2 separate regions of the Homo sapiens genome follow, and region 2 is linked to region 1. The links are contacts of gene promoters, found by promoter capture Hi-C in blood cells and fetal thymus (Javierre and others, 2016). All regions are on one chromosome and are shown on one strand. The core of a region is centred on a gene start or on the middle of the fragment in contact, and the rest is flanking DNA. Distances in the headings are between cores, read along the strand shown.

Region 1 (6,529 bases), core at 2,020-4,519:
TGCCCAGCCTGACTTCTTTGTGTGTGCGTGGTGGGGGGGTGGGGGCATTTGTGTGAGGGTCTTTTCTCCACTCACACTCCCCCGGAGAATCAGAAGCAGTTGTGTGGTCCCAGCGGAGGTGCTCAGGGCTGGGTTTTATCTTGGCGACTGTTCACAGGGTGCTCGCCATGCACTGAGAGGCAGCCGAGGACAGTCTTATCAGTGGGGGCTCCAGGCCAGGCTGCCTGGGTTTAAATCCAGACCTCACCACTTACTAGCTGGGGGGCTTTGACTCAATTCCTTAACCCTTGTAAGCCTCAGTTTCCTTGTCTATAAAGTGGGGATCATGATAATAACAACCTCATAAGTTTATGAAAGCTGAATGAGGTCACAGATATAAACACAACAGTGCTTGCATGTGGTGGCACGTGGTGCTAGCTACGTGTTGATACGCATTTGCTGCTGTTGTAACCCACACGTGGTGCTAGATACGTGTTGATACGCATTTGCCATTGCTGTAACCCGCGTCACAAAGTTTAGTGAGGATGAAATCATTGATATAAATTGTTTAAAAGGTGACTGGCATTTAGTAAATGTCAGCTACAGTATATCTCTCTGTCTGTCTGTCTGTGTATGTATTCTTATGTCAAAACCAACTCAGCACTGAGCCTGCTTCCAAGAACTGTCTCCAACTTAAAGTTGCCAGCAGTCTGGTTGAGGGGACTGGGCCACACCAGCAGCAGATTAAAAATGAACCGGCCTATATGTCTTGTTCCTTTCTTCAAGACAACAGGGACATGGGAAGTCCCAGCAGAGGGACGCCAGGGGAGCCCGTCTGAGGGGTCTGCTGGGCGGGAATCAGAACAGCCTGCCTTTGCCCAGCGCTCAGCGCAGCCTGACCATTTTCACCCCTGTTGTTTTTCTTATTAAATTGGGAAACAAATTATACAAATTTGAACTATTTCTAACCTCCAGCAAAAGGTAGTCACATTCTATCTCAATTTGGAAGACTGAGTGGGCATTACTGTTGACGTGAGTACCTACAGTTTCAGTCAAGATTCTCATTTTTTTAAACCCATGGAAGAAAATTATCCTCTATGGAAACCAAGCTTTACAAAGCTTGTCTCTATGTTCTGATTTTAATTGCCAGTTGAAAGGAAAGCTCAGCCTTGCTTGTTAAATAACTGTGTAAATATTACCAGGGCACTGAGAAGGCCTGAGGAGGAGAAGGAATGGTTTCCTTGCACATCTGTGCCTGAGAAATGAAGACTCAGACTCACTTCTGAAGAAACGAGTTCAACTTCAGATGGGAGGTTGAACTCCATTTTCCCGAAGGCCGAGGAAATGTATGCGTGTGTGTGTGTGTATCGTGTGTGTTTGTCAGCATGTGCGTCTGTTACGTACACGTGTGCGTATGTGCATGTGTATTATGTAAGTGCACATGGGCATGGTCGTGTATATATACGTGTGTGTGTTGGGGACGCACTGGGAACAGAGCATGGTGTCTGCGTCACATGTTGTTTCTCCGCACCTGGAGGCCTCTGAGTGCTGTGTCTGCGCCACTGTCACCAGCCTCCCCGTCTGGCCACACAGATCCTCCTGCTGTGCATGGGCTGCAGCCATGCTAGAGGGACCCTCCAATCTCCCCTAGGTGGCCCCAGGCTTAGCAGGTACTCTATAAAAGTATGTTGAGACAGTGTACTTTTCTGCTTAAGGTCAAAGGGCTTTGCTTTTGTCTGTGTGTGGAGAGCCGTGGCGGCTGGGAGAAGGCTGGGTGGGTGTCCATAAACGCGTGCTAAGGATGGAGCCATCCATCAACCTTATTTCTCCTCTTGCCTTTGCTTAGACCATAGCGTGGACACTGCTATATATTACATATTGAATTGGGTTCCCGGAGCCTCTGGCCTCTCCCCGGAAACAAGTAAGACCTTCTCTGAAGCTGCTTGAGTTCCTGTGGGCTGGAAACAGGGCAGGGAAAGAGAGGTTTGCTAACTGGTTCCTTCCCAGCCAGATGTGGTTAACGTGGCCTCTGAAAGCACCTTACTCATCCCTGTTGAGCTGCTGACCTGCAGCTCCACATGTACCCACTCTGATTCACTGAGACTCACTCCCCCTCCAGTGAAGGCTGCCCCACCCGCAGATCAGGGGACCGCACGTGTTAGGGCCTTACCTAGGGTTCCCTGGCCACTGCCGCCTGCAGGCCCTCGCTTTGTTGTGGCTCTTCCCAAGAGTCATCAGGCGCTGTTGCTCACGCATAAGCACACAGGTGACAAAGTCCCCTGAAGAATTGCCCACCAGTGTGACCTGAACGACCCCTTTCCCCAACACCACACATGAGCACTCAAACTGGATGTGGAGGCCCGGCTGTAAGAGTGCCCATCTGCAAGGCTCAGCTCTAGGAGCTGTCCCCCTGCCTTCCCTGACCATATGGGGCACAGGTTCTGTGCTGGCCCCAGTCCCAGATGGTGGAAGGCAAGGAAGGAGAACCCACATCACCCACCTGCCGTGCACCGGGGGGTTCGCGTATGACTTTGTTTAATGCCCTGGCAGAGTCTTCTGAGGCATTACACTCACCACCGCCACAGGGAGAAGACTGGAGCAAGAGGAAGAGAATTTGCATTTGCGAGTGCACGCTGCGTTCCCGCGACAGCCAGACACTGCATTACCTCATGCAGCCCTCACGGCAGTCTCATGAGATGTAATGCTTAGTTCTGGTGGAGCTGGGGCCAGAACACACTTTCCCTGACTCAGAGTCCTCACTCTTACCTCCACCTTCTCACTACTCAAAAGTGTGGCCTGCAGACCAGTAGCGTTGGTATCACCTGGGGGCTTGTCAGCGATGCGGAATCCCAGTCTGCATTTTAACCAGATCCCGGACACACATTTCCCCCGCACAGTAAGGTCTGGGAAGCACTGCCCTGCATCTAGTAACTCTTATGTGAGAGAACCCTGGGAGGGGAGGTGGAGGCCAGTGGGGTTAGCTGAGAAAACCTTCTGGAGGGCCAGTGGCAGAGCTGAGCCACAGAACAGGTGCGTGGTGGAGCAGAGGCAGCATTTGCTAATCAGAATGGCATCTGCGATGCCTTCGCAGGCTGTGTGGAGAGGGGAAGGTGCGGCCTTGTGGCCCCTTGTCTGTGTGGAAGGGCAGGCGACTCTGTGGGGGAAGGGTGGCGTGGAGACGGGAAGCGTGATTACCCACACAGGCCTCGAGCACCCGCATCCAGGGACCACGGCCGCCAGGAGGGGCTGGACTCTCTCAGGAGAAGCGTGCGTCTGGGAATCCCCGCTGAGGGGGCTTGTGAATGTGGGATCGAAGCGCTTAGATCTTGGCTTCCGGAGGTCTCCGCGGGTGTCCAGCTTTGTACAGGGTGTGGGGATGAGTCTGCCGACCGGACTCCCATGTCAGCTTTGTGTCTGGACAGAACAAGGGGCGAGGAAGCCTGGTCGGGCCACTCTGGGCCTGCATGCGTGTGGGCAGGTGTCTGTTGGTCTTGGGCAAAGGGCGAGGTGACACTGAGGGCGTGAGGGAGGAGGCCCCAAGAGAGCAGGGAAGCGTGGAAGATGCCAGCTGGCCTGGGGGCGTGGATGTGGGTTTCAGCAGAGTGCAGACAGGCAGTGGGGCGTGGGGCCTCCTTGGGGCCTCGCTGGGCTGTGTCGGGTGCTTGCTTTCTTTTCTCCTTTGCCTCCTTCCAAGGTGCGTCCACAGCCAGCGTTTCTTTATGCTTTTCCCTCAGTCTGAGACCTAGGAACAGGAGAGGCCAGTGCTGTGAATTTCATGTTTCATGGCCTCCCCAGCAAGCCAGCCCACGAAATTCCACACAGGGAGGAGGAAGAGGAGGAGGAGGAGGAGGAGCTGCCACTGTCCCCGAGGGGAGCAGCTGACACTCTCCCCTTGACTGCACCAGGCCTTGGGGGTATGGCGCCTCCACGGACGTGGGCTGGGGGAGGATAGGCTCCTAATTAGTTTGGATGCGCTTGGAGTCAGGGCACCTTTTCCCCAGTGGGCAGTTCTGCACCCTGAACAGCTGTGGGGAGAAGGGCAGCGGGAGGACGGCCAGATAATTCCAGAAGAAAGGCTCCAGGAGTGGCAGCAGAACTGCTGTTATTTTCGGAGGAGTCTAATTACTTTCCCCAGGTAATGGCTTGAAGTAGCATCTAATTTTATTTATTTATTTATTTATTTATTTTTATTTTTTTATTATACTTTAAGTTCTAGGGTACATGTGCACATTGTGCAGGTTAGTTACATATGTATACATGTGCCATGCTGGTGCGCTGCACCCACTAACTCGTCATCTAGCATTAGGTATATCCCCCAATGCTATCCCTCCCCCCTCCCACCACCCCACAACAGTCCCCAGAGTGTGATATTCCCCTTCCTGTGTCCATGTGATCTCACTGTTCAATTCCCACCTATGAGTGAGAATATGCGGTGTTTGGTTTTTTGTACTTGCGATAGTTTACTGAGAATGATGATTTCCAATTTCATCCATGTCCCTACAAAGGACAGTAACTCATCATTTTTTATGGCTGCATAGTATTCCATGGTGTATATGTGCCACATTTTCTTAATCCAGTCTATCATTGTTGGACATTTGGGTTGGTTCCAAGTCTTTGCTATTGTGAATAATGCCACAATAAACATACGTGTGCATGTGTCTTTATAGCAGCATGATTTATAGTCCTTTGGGTATATACCCAGTAATGGGATGGCTGGGTCAAATGGTATTTCCAGTTCTAGATCCCTGAGGAATCGCCACACTGACTTCCACAATGGTTGAACTAGTTTACAGTCCCACCAACAGTGTAAAAGTGTTCCTATTTCTCCACATCCTCTCCAGCACCTGTTGTTTCCTGACTTTTTAATGATTGCCATTCTAACTGGTGTGAGATGGTATCTCACTGTGGTTTTGATTTGCATTTCTCTGATGGCCAGTGATGATGAGCATTTTTTCATGTGGTTTTTGGCTGCATAAATGTCTTCTTTTGAGAAGTATCTGTTCATGTCCTTCGCCCACTTTTTGATGGGGTTGTTTGTTTTTTTCTTGTAAATTTGTTTGAGTTCATTGTAGATTCTGGATATTAGCCCTCTGTCGGATGAGTTGGTTGCGAAAATTTTCTCCCATTCTGTAGGTTGCCTGTTCACTCTGATGGTAGTTTCTTTTGCTGTGCAGAAGCTCTTTAGTTTAATTAGATCCCATTTGTCAATTTTGTCTTTTGTTGCCATTGCTTTTGGTGTTTTAGACATGAAGTCCTTGCCCATGCCTATGTCCTGAATGGTAATGCCTAGGTTTTCTTCTAGGGTTTTTATGGTTTTAGGTCTAACGTTTAAGTCTTTAATCCATCTTGAATTGATTTTTGTATAAGGTGTAAGGAAGGGATCCAGTTTCAGCTTTCTACATATGGCTAGCCAGTTTTCCCAGCACCATTTATTAAATAGGGAATCCGTTCCCCATTACTTGTTTTTGTCAGGTTTGTCAAAGATCAGATAGTTGTAGACATGCGGCGTTATTTCTGAGGGCTCTGTTCTGTTCCGTTGGCCTATATCTCTGTTTTGGTACCAGTACCATGCTGTTTTGGTTACTGTAGCCTTGTAATATAGTTTGAAGTCAGGTAGTGTGATGCCTCCAGCTTTGTTCTTTTGGCTTAGGATTGACTTGGCGATGCGGGCTCTTTTTTGGTTCCAGATGAACTTTAAAGTAGTTTTTTCCAATTCTGTGAAGAAAGTCATTGGTAGCTTGATGGGGATGGCATTGAATCTGTAAATTACCTTGGGCAGTATGGCCATTTTCACGATATTGATTCTTCCTACCCATGAGCATGGCATGTTCTTCCATTTGTTTGTATCCTCTTTTATTTCCTTGAGCAGAGGTTTGTAGTTCTCCTTGAAGAGGTCCTTCACATCCCTTGTAAGTTGGATTCCTAGGTATTTTATTCTCTTTGAAGCAATTGTGAATGGGAGTTCACTCATGATTTGGCTCTCTGTTTGTCTGTTGTTGGTGTATAAGAATGCTTGTGATTTTTGTACATTGATTTTGTATCCTGAGACTTTGCTGAAGTTGCTTATCAGCTTAAGGAGATTTTGGGCTGAGACAATGGGGTTTTCTAGATATACAATCATGTCGTCTGCAAACAGGGACAATTTGACTTCCTCTTTTCCTAATTGAATACCCTTTATTTCCTTCTCCTGCCTAATTGCCCTGGCCAGAACTTCCAACACTATGTTGAATAGGAGTGGTGAGAGAGGGCATCCCTGTCTTGTGCCAGTTTTCAAAGGGAATGCTTCCAGTTTTTGCCCATTCAGTATGATATTGGCTGTGGGTTTGTCATAGATAGCTCTTATTATTTTGAAATACATCCCATCAATACCTAATTTATTGAGAGTTTTTAGCATGAAGGGTTGTTGAATTTTGTCAAAGGCTTTTTCTGCATCTATTGAGATAATCATGTGGTTTTTGTCTTTGGCTCTGTTTACCTGCTGGATTACATTTATTGATTTGCGTATATTGAACCAGCCTTGCATCCCAGGGATGAAGCCCACTTGATCATG
Region 2 (6,529 bases), core at 2,050-4,549, 66 kb after region 1:
TAAGTCACCTAAGTTAGTAAAATAAATAAAAACTTTGGAGTTTTGGAATGGCCTTCAGGTGCCTTCCACATCCATTTCCCTGGAAATCCCTGTTTCCTGTCGGTGTCTGATAAGGGATTTTTCAGGAATTGAGCGGAGCTTTTCCAGGAGATGTCACATAAGAAACCTCACCCTGGGTTCCCAAGGCCCAGTTACATTGTAGCTAAATCACAGATTTACCAAAGTATACAGGGTCCTCTTTCTTTACCTCCACCTGGACACTTTTTTGAAGGAAAATGGATTTTGGATGTAAGCGCCTCCGCGATTGTTCTATGCTCCCGGGGTCACAAGACTCCTTGAAAGCAGAGGTTCAGCAACCTCTAGCCAGGTTCCCCACACAGCTGGGGGGCTCTTCCCACCCTAAGGGGTGATCCATTTGCCAGGGAGACTTGGGACTGACTCAGCCCCTGCCCTGGCTGCCGAGGGACCCTGCCTTTTTCTGCCGAGCTTGTGCTTACGGGGAAATTCCAGGCTTCTCCGGAAACCATCTTAACTGCCTGGAATCCTCCTCTTGGACTTGTCTGGGCTGGCGCAGTCCTGGGAGGAAAGGAAAGTAAATAAATGTAAATCTGTTTGATCACAGACAGAGCATTTATCTTTCAATAGGAAGCTTCCTGAGGAAGGACAGCAAAGGGGTTTGGAATGAGTAAGCTCAAAGTATCAGCCTGCGTACAAGATGCCCTCGGGGGGAGCCTGGCTATTGTGGCGCTGCGGTCACACTGGGCCAGGCCCCTGCTGAGGCCCAGCACTGCACAGGCACCCGGAGCCCTGCCCTTCTCCCTCAGGGCACCCCAGGGCAGTACCGCCCTCTGGCCCAGCTGATGGGCCGGGCCAGGCTCCCCTGGCTTCCCAAGTGGAGGAGGAGGAAATGGTCTTTGCCAGCAGGCCAGCCACCCTCGAGGAGAAGTGGGGTCTTCTTTGGGGCTGTGGAGGCAGTGCTAGGAGTGGACGGAAGGGCTCAGAGGCCAAGCTCAGATGTTCCCTATGGCTGAGGTCCCTGACAAGGATCCTCAAACAGGGAGAATGCTGGTACCCTTCCAGTTTGGGCCTGGGTGTCACTTACCTGGGACACTTGTCACATCCCCTTTAAATCTCTGTCCTTGCCTGGCTCTGGCCAGAAACATTCCAGGGCTTGTTGATTCTGAAGAGCAGTAGGGTTTCCAGGGTTCTCTCCTGAAGCTCGGGGATATCCAGTGGCTTCAGGGTAAAAGCCTGTTTGCTAACCTGCTGCACAGCTGGTAAAAAGCCATGGGTCTCTCCCTTAAACCCAACCCAGCAGATGAGGTCTACTCTGGAGGCCCGAAAACACCTTAAACTCATCGCACAGAAAACCGGCGCAATACTTGGCCCCTCTTCCTTTTTCCCGACCTACAGTACCCCATCCTTCAACCCAGAGTACCCCATCCTTCGACCCACAGTATCCCATCTTTCCTTCTGCTGGATGTTGGAGGACTCAAAGTTATTCTAAATCTCTACAATACTCTTAACATTTTAAATCCAAATCCAGGCAATAATTCAATGTTCCAGCGATGTCCTTTGTGACCCATTCATTTCAGTTGATTTGGTTCTATTGATCCTTTTTTTTTTTGAGACAGAGTTTCGCTCTTGTTACCCAGGCTGGAGTACAATGGTGCGATCTCAGCTCACCACAGCCTCTGCCCCCGGCGTGAAGCGATACTCCTGCCTCACCTTCCCAAGTAGCTGGGATTACAGGCACGTGCCACCACGCCCAGCTAATTTTGTATTTTTAGTAGAGACGGGGTTTCTCCGTGTTGGTCAGGCTGGTCTCGAACTCCTGACCTCCTGTGATCTGCCCACCTCGGCCTCCCAAAGTGCTGGGATTACAGGCATGAGCCACCGCGCCCGGCCGATCCCTTTTTTTCATTTGTTCATTCATTCATTCATTCATTCATTCATTCATTCCAGACACATTACAGCCACAGAGGTGAGGAGGATTCAGGTCCTGCCCGCAGAGACAGTTGCACATACAGCCAGCCACACAAGGGGCAAGAAGTAGTCTGTGCTGGGCCACAGGGGCAGCTCTCAGGAGGCTCTGTATTGACTTCACGCCCACGCTGTGCTACATTCATCACAAATCTGACAGTATGCAACAAAAAGCAGGCCACAAAATAATGGATGGTATTAACAGCAGAGTCAAGATGTGGGAAAATGGAATAAAATGAGCTCTCCAGGTACCATCTATTTTTTAGAAAATGGAATCCATTCATTCAGGAAGCTTGATGGATAAATGAAGTAGGCCAGACAGGGAGAATACAAATAGCAGCAGCTCCTGTGGGAAGCCTGCCAGCCCCTCGCTGAGTGCATGATCTACACCATCACATCATCCACTGAACAGCCTGTGAAGTTGGTACTCTGATGATTCCCATTTTACAGATGGAGAAACCATGACACAGGAATGATGTGGCTGGCTTACAGTCACAGAGCTAGAGCCAGAACTCAAACCCGGGTCTGTCTCACTCCGAAGTTTCTGCTAATGACAGCATGGAAAAGATTCCTCATTTCCACCAGCTTCCTTTTAATCAAGGCAGATTAGACATTCATGCATTGGCTAATCTAGGCTTTGAGTGTAGTGACGTTTATGTAGTGCCTACAAAGCAAGATTAGCCATTACACGTTTTGTCGTTCTGGAAACTGACTCTTGGCAATTCCCAGCCAGGCTTTATCTCAACATACTTCCTGAAATCTCAGGCCATGTGTATTTTGCCTACAGAGTGGCTCTGAAAATAAAGTAGGCTGGAAGTCAGGTGACTGATGTCATCCTGGACTCGTAGGCGATTAACAGTATGACCTTGGAGAAGTCACCTTCCTCTGGTTTCAGTTTCCCATTTGAAAATGCAAGAATTGCAGCCATTCTACCACTAGGACTAGAAGAGACGTACCTGGGCATTAAGAGGCATGCTCAGTGGGAACAGAGGTGGGTGGATTGCCTGAGGTTAGGAGTTCGAGACCAGCCTGGCCATCATGGTGAAACCCCGTCTCTAGTAAAAATACAAAAATTAGCTGGGCATGGTGGCGTGCACCTGTAATCCCAGCTACTCAGGAGGCTGAGGCAGGAGAATCGCTTGAACCTGGAAGGTGGAGGTTGCAGTGAGCCGAGATCGCACCACTGCACTCCAGCCTGGGTGATAGAGCAAGACTCCATCTCAAAAACAAAACAAACAAACAAAACAAAACAAAAAAACTCACAGAAGCATGCCCAAGGATGCTCATGGCAGTGCCGCCTGTGAGCATGAGAAACGGGAGGCCACCTGTGAGAATGGAGAATAACCCTGGTGACCATATGTGGCAGCAGGTCTCCAAGTCAATCCCTGTGATCTCCACCTCCTGGCATCCCCCCAGTGTAGTCCTCTTCCACACTGAACCAGGGAAGATCTGCTTGACCAACAGCATATGGCAGAATTGTTACCAGTGGAAGGTTGGAAGGTATCTGAGTTACCAGCGGTGAATCCGTGTGGGTCTGCAGCAACCTCAATTCTTGCCTCCTCAGAAGAAAGAATTTGACTGACGGGCCTAAGGCTGAAAAAGAGAGGAAGGCAAGAGGAGGAGTGGAAGGTTTTTATAAAGCCTTTAGACCAGGAAAGAAAGTACACTGGGAAAAGACCCCAAGCGGGCGACGTCAGAACAAGTGCAGCGTTTAACCTTGATCCGAGGACTTTCTGGGCTGGCCCCTTTCTCGTGATTCTCACCTTAGGGTGAGCTGCCTGCATGTGCAGTGCCCTCCTTACCCTTACACAGTGTGTATAGGAAGTTGTACACATACCCACCTGAGGCTTTCTTCCCTTTTCTTGTGGGGTGCTCCCAGAGGGTCATACTCTGCCATTTTGTCTCTTAATGCACCATGCCTGGGAAGTTGTGTCTCCCTGGCACCTGCATTCAATGAACACTTTAGTGCAGCAGGTGTGGTCCATGAGGAAATGGCCTCTCCCTGGCACTGGCTGCCAATTTATCACTTTTAGAGAGGCAGTGTGATCATTGCCAAACCATCACCCAACATTCCCCCAGAGCCCTCTCCTGCCCTGCTCATGCCTGTCTCACTACCTGTAACAGAAGGAATGGCATGGCACTCCCGGGCTTAGTAAAACCTAAGCCGCTTCCATCTTGGGTTTTCTCTCTCCTTGCTCTTGAATCCCTTGCCCTGGGGAAGCTGCCTAGTTGTGAGCAGCCCTGTAGAGAGGCCCACGTGGAAAGGAATTGAGTCCTTTAGCCAACAGCCATGGGCGTTAGCCATCTTATCTGTGGATCCTTTAACCCCAATCAAGCTTTCAGATGACCACAGCCCTGCCAGCTCAGCTGCAACCCCACGACAGGCCCTGATCCAGAACCACCATGAGGGGCTGTTTCAGGGCTCCTGATCTCAGAATCTGTGTGAAATAATAAATTGTTTTTGTTTTAAAGCTGCTAAATTTGGGGGGTAATTTGTTATCCAGCAATGGATAACAAATACACCCCATACTATAGGATATTATGGAGCAAAGAGTGGAACAGGTCTATGTGTACTGATACAGAAAGATTTCTGAGATATGTGTTAAGACACCCTTAGAATGTGTTGTTAGAAAATAATAATTACAAAAAAAGATATACGGCTATATATCTTTTATGTAAAATACCACAACTCACTATACTTTTATGCATTTACATATGCAAGTAGATATGTAGCAAATTACCCATCATGTAGCAATGATGAACATCAATTTACCCTCAGTAAGAGAGTCAGAGGAAGGTGCAAAGTGGAATTTTCATTTTCTATTCAATAGATTGCTCTCTCTCTCTCTCTCTCTCTCTATATATATATATAATATATATATAATTTTACCATGATAATGTGTCAATGTATTACTTATACTCAATTTAAAAATTCTTTAAACGAAGGCATTTGAGTACTTGATCACTGAGGTCTCTTTCAACTCTGGTGTTTTATAGTTCTATTAAAATGTCATTGGAATGTAAATTAAAAGAATGGGATAACATTTATCACCTCTTTGTTGGAAAACATTAAAAGTTTGATAAACCAATGTTGGCAAAGATGTGCTGGGATTTAAGGGGAGGGCAGGGCTGGCCTTTGAATCCAGTTATATTGACTCCCAAATCTAGGGCCCTTCCTGTTATTTTACCTTTGTGCCTATAGTTTACATGCAGGTGTCTGTGTTAGAGGAGCTTGTCTCTGGTGGATATATATATGTATATATATATATTTTTTTTTTGAGACAGGGTCTCTCTCTGTCGCCCAGGCTGGAGTGCAGTGGCACGATCTCAGCTCACTGCAATCTCTGCCTCCCGAGTTCAAGTGATTCTCCCGCCTCAGCCTCCTGAATAGCTGGGGTTACAGGTGTGCGCCACCATAGCCTGGCTAATTTTTGTATTTTTGTATTTTTAGTAGAGATGGGGTTTCACCATGTTGGCCAGGCTGGTCTCAAACTTCTGGCCTCAAGTGATCCGCCCGCCTCGGCCTCCCAGTGTCCTGGGATTACAGGCATGAGCCACCGCTCCTGGCCTGGGTGGACATTTAAACTGTGGCTCCTTGGAGCTCCCTCTGTTTTTGCTGAGGACAATTTCTCATTTCCCATTACTTATAAGAGACAGGCTCTGTGAGAGCCTCCAATTTGCCAGCTGCTTCCACTTCACAGAACAAAATCATCCTGTTGAACTCATCAGTCTGAAACTACTTCCACCTCTGAGCTCCGGGGCCTGGTCCAGCCCAACTAACTTGACTGCCGAGGGCTTTGCTCCGTCTTGGGATGGCTGGGGCCTCCCTCACCTGACCTGGGTGTTCAGCTGTGATGATTGAGCTTCGCTGTCATGAAACTTCCCCAGAGTTGGTGCCACGCCTCCCCCTCCCTCCAGCTTGCCACACCACTCGGGCTGAAGGATCTGCCTGCCCAACCCCGAACATTTCATCTTGGGTTGGTCTGCATAAAGACGGCCTGGGGAAAAAGTGATAGCATCACAAATTATACACAGTAAAATGCCTCTGCATTATCTCGCTTGGAGAAAGAAATAACTGATACTGGCCTAAGGCTTTGAACAGGAGTTTTATGGGGAGCTAAGAAGAGGGGTTCTCTGGCTTTGCAGGAGAATCACCTGTGCTCCCCTCTCCATTCTGACGGAATGGTCTGGGGGCTTGGGCATGGGTATTGTCTGAAAGTGCCTCAGATGGCTTTAATAAACAGCCAGGGTTTGAGAACATCTGTATTGGAGGGAAATGTGAAAAGGACATTGAGGTCAAATGGATGGGATTAATTATGTTTGCTAAATCAGGAAACTCTCTAGAGAGGGAAGTGACACGCCCACCGTTTTGCCTACTGTTGGAAAATTAAAGTTTCATCTTAACAAGGGCCATCTACACTGGGCTGGGTGTGAAGGCAAACTGGGATGTCAGGGCTGTAACGAGAAGCAGAAGAGAGGGGCCCAAGTCCCAACCCGTAGCTCCTGGGAGAGAAGTTGTGGGAGCCCAACATGGTGAAACCCTGTC

Evidence for each region. The method cuts DNA at HindIII sites, captures the fragments that hold promoters and counts their contacts. A CHiCAGO score of 5 or more calls a contact.
Region 2: a fragment that was not itself captured here is called in contact with the fragment with the promoter of XXYLT1-AS1 in region 1 in 1 of 17 cell types (endothelial precursors); the score reaches 6.3 in endothelial precursors.

The regions. Positions count from the first base shown.
Region 1 is chr3:195,091,328-195,097,856 of GRCh38, reverse strand. XXYLT1-AS1 (XXYLT1 antisense RNA 1) reads right to left here and starts at 3,269. Exons shown (of 4, transcript NR_104188.1): 1 at 3,179-3,269; 2 at 2,480-2,572; 3 at 2,150-2,258; 4 at 1,800-1,937. All of the region lies in intron 3 of XXYLT1 (xyloside xylosyltransferase 1), which reads left to right. RefSeq lists enhancers at 1,685-2,884, 3,349-3,398, 3,469-3,638, 3,759-3,828. The HindIII fragment of the contact is 5,440 bases long and covers 1,101-6,529 here.
Region 2 is chr3:195,025,223-195,031,751 of GRCh38, reverse strand. No RefSeq gene overlaps it. Among named protein-coding and RNA genes, the nearest start is that of XXYLT1-AS1, 66 kb to the left of the region's middle. RefSeq lists enhancers at 1-358, 359-1,356. The HindIII fragment of the contact is 2,044 bases long and covers 2,278-4,321 here.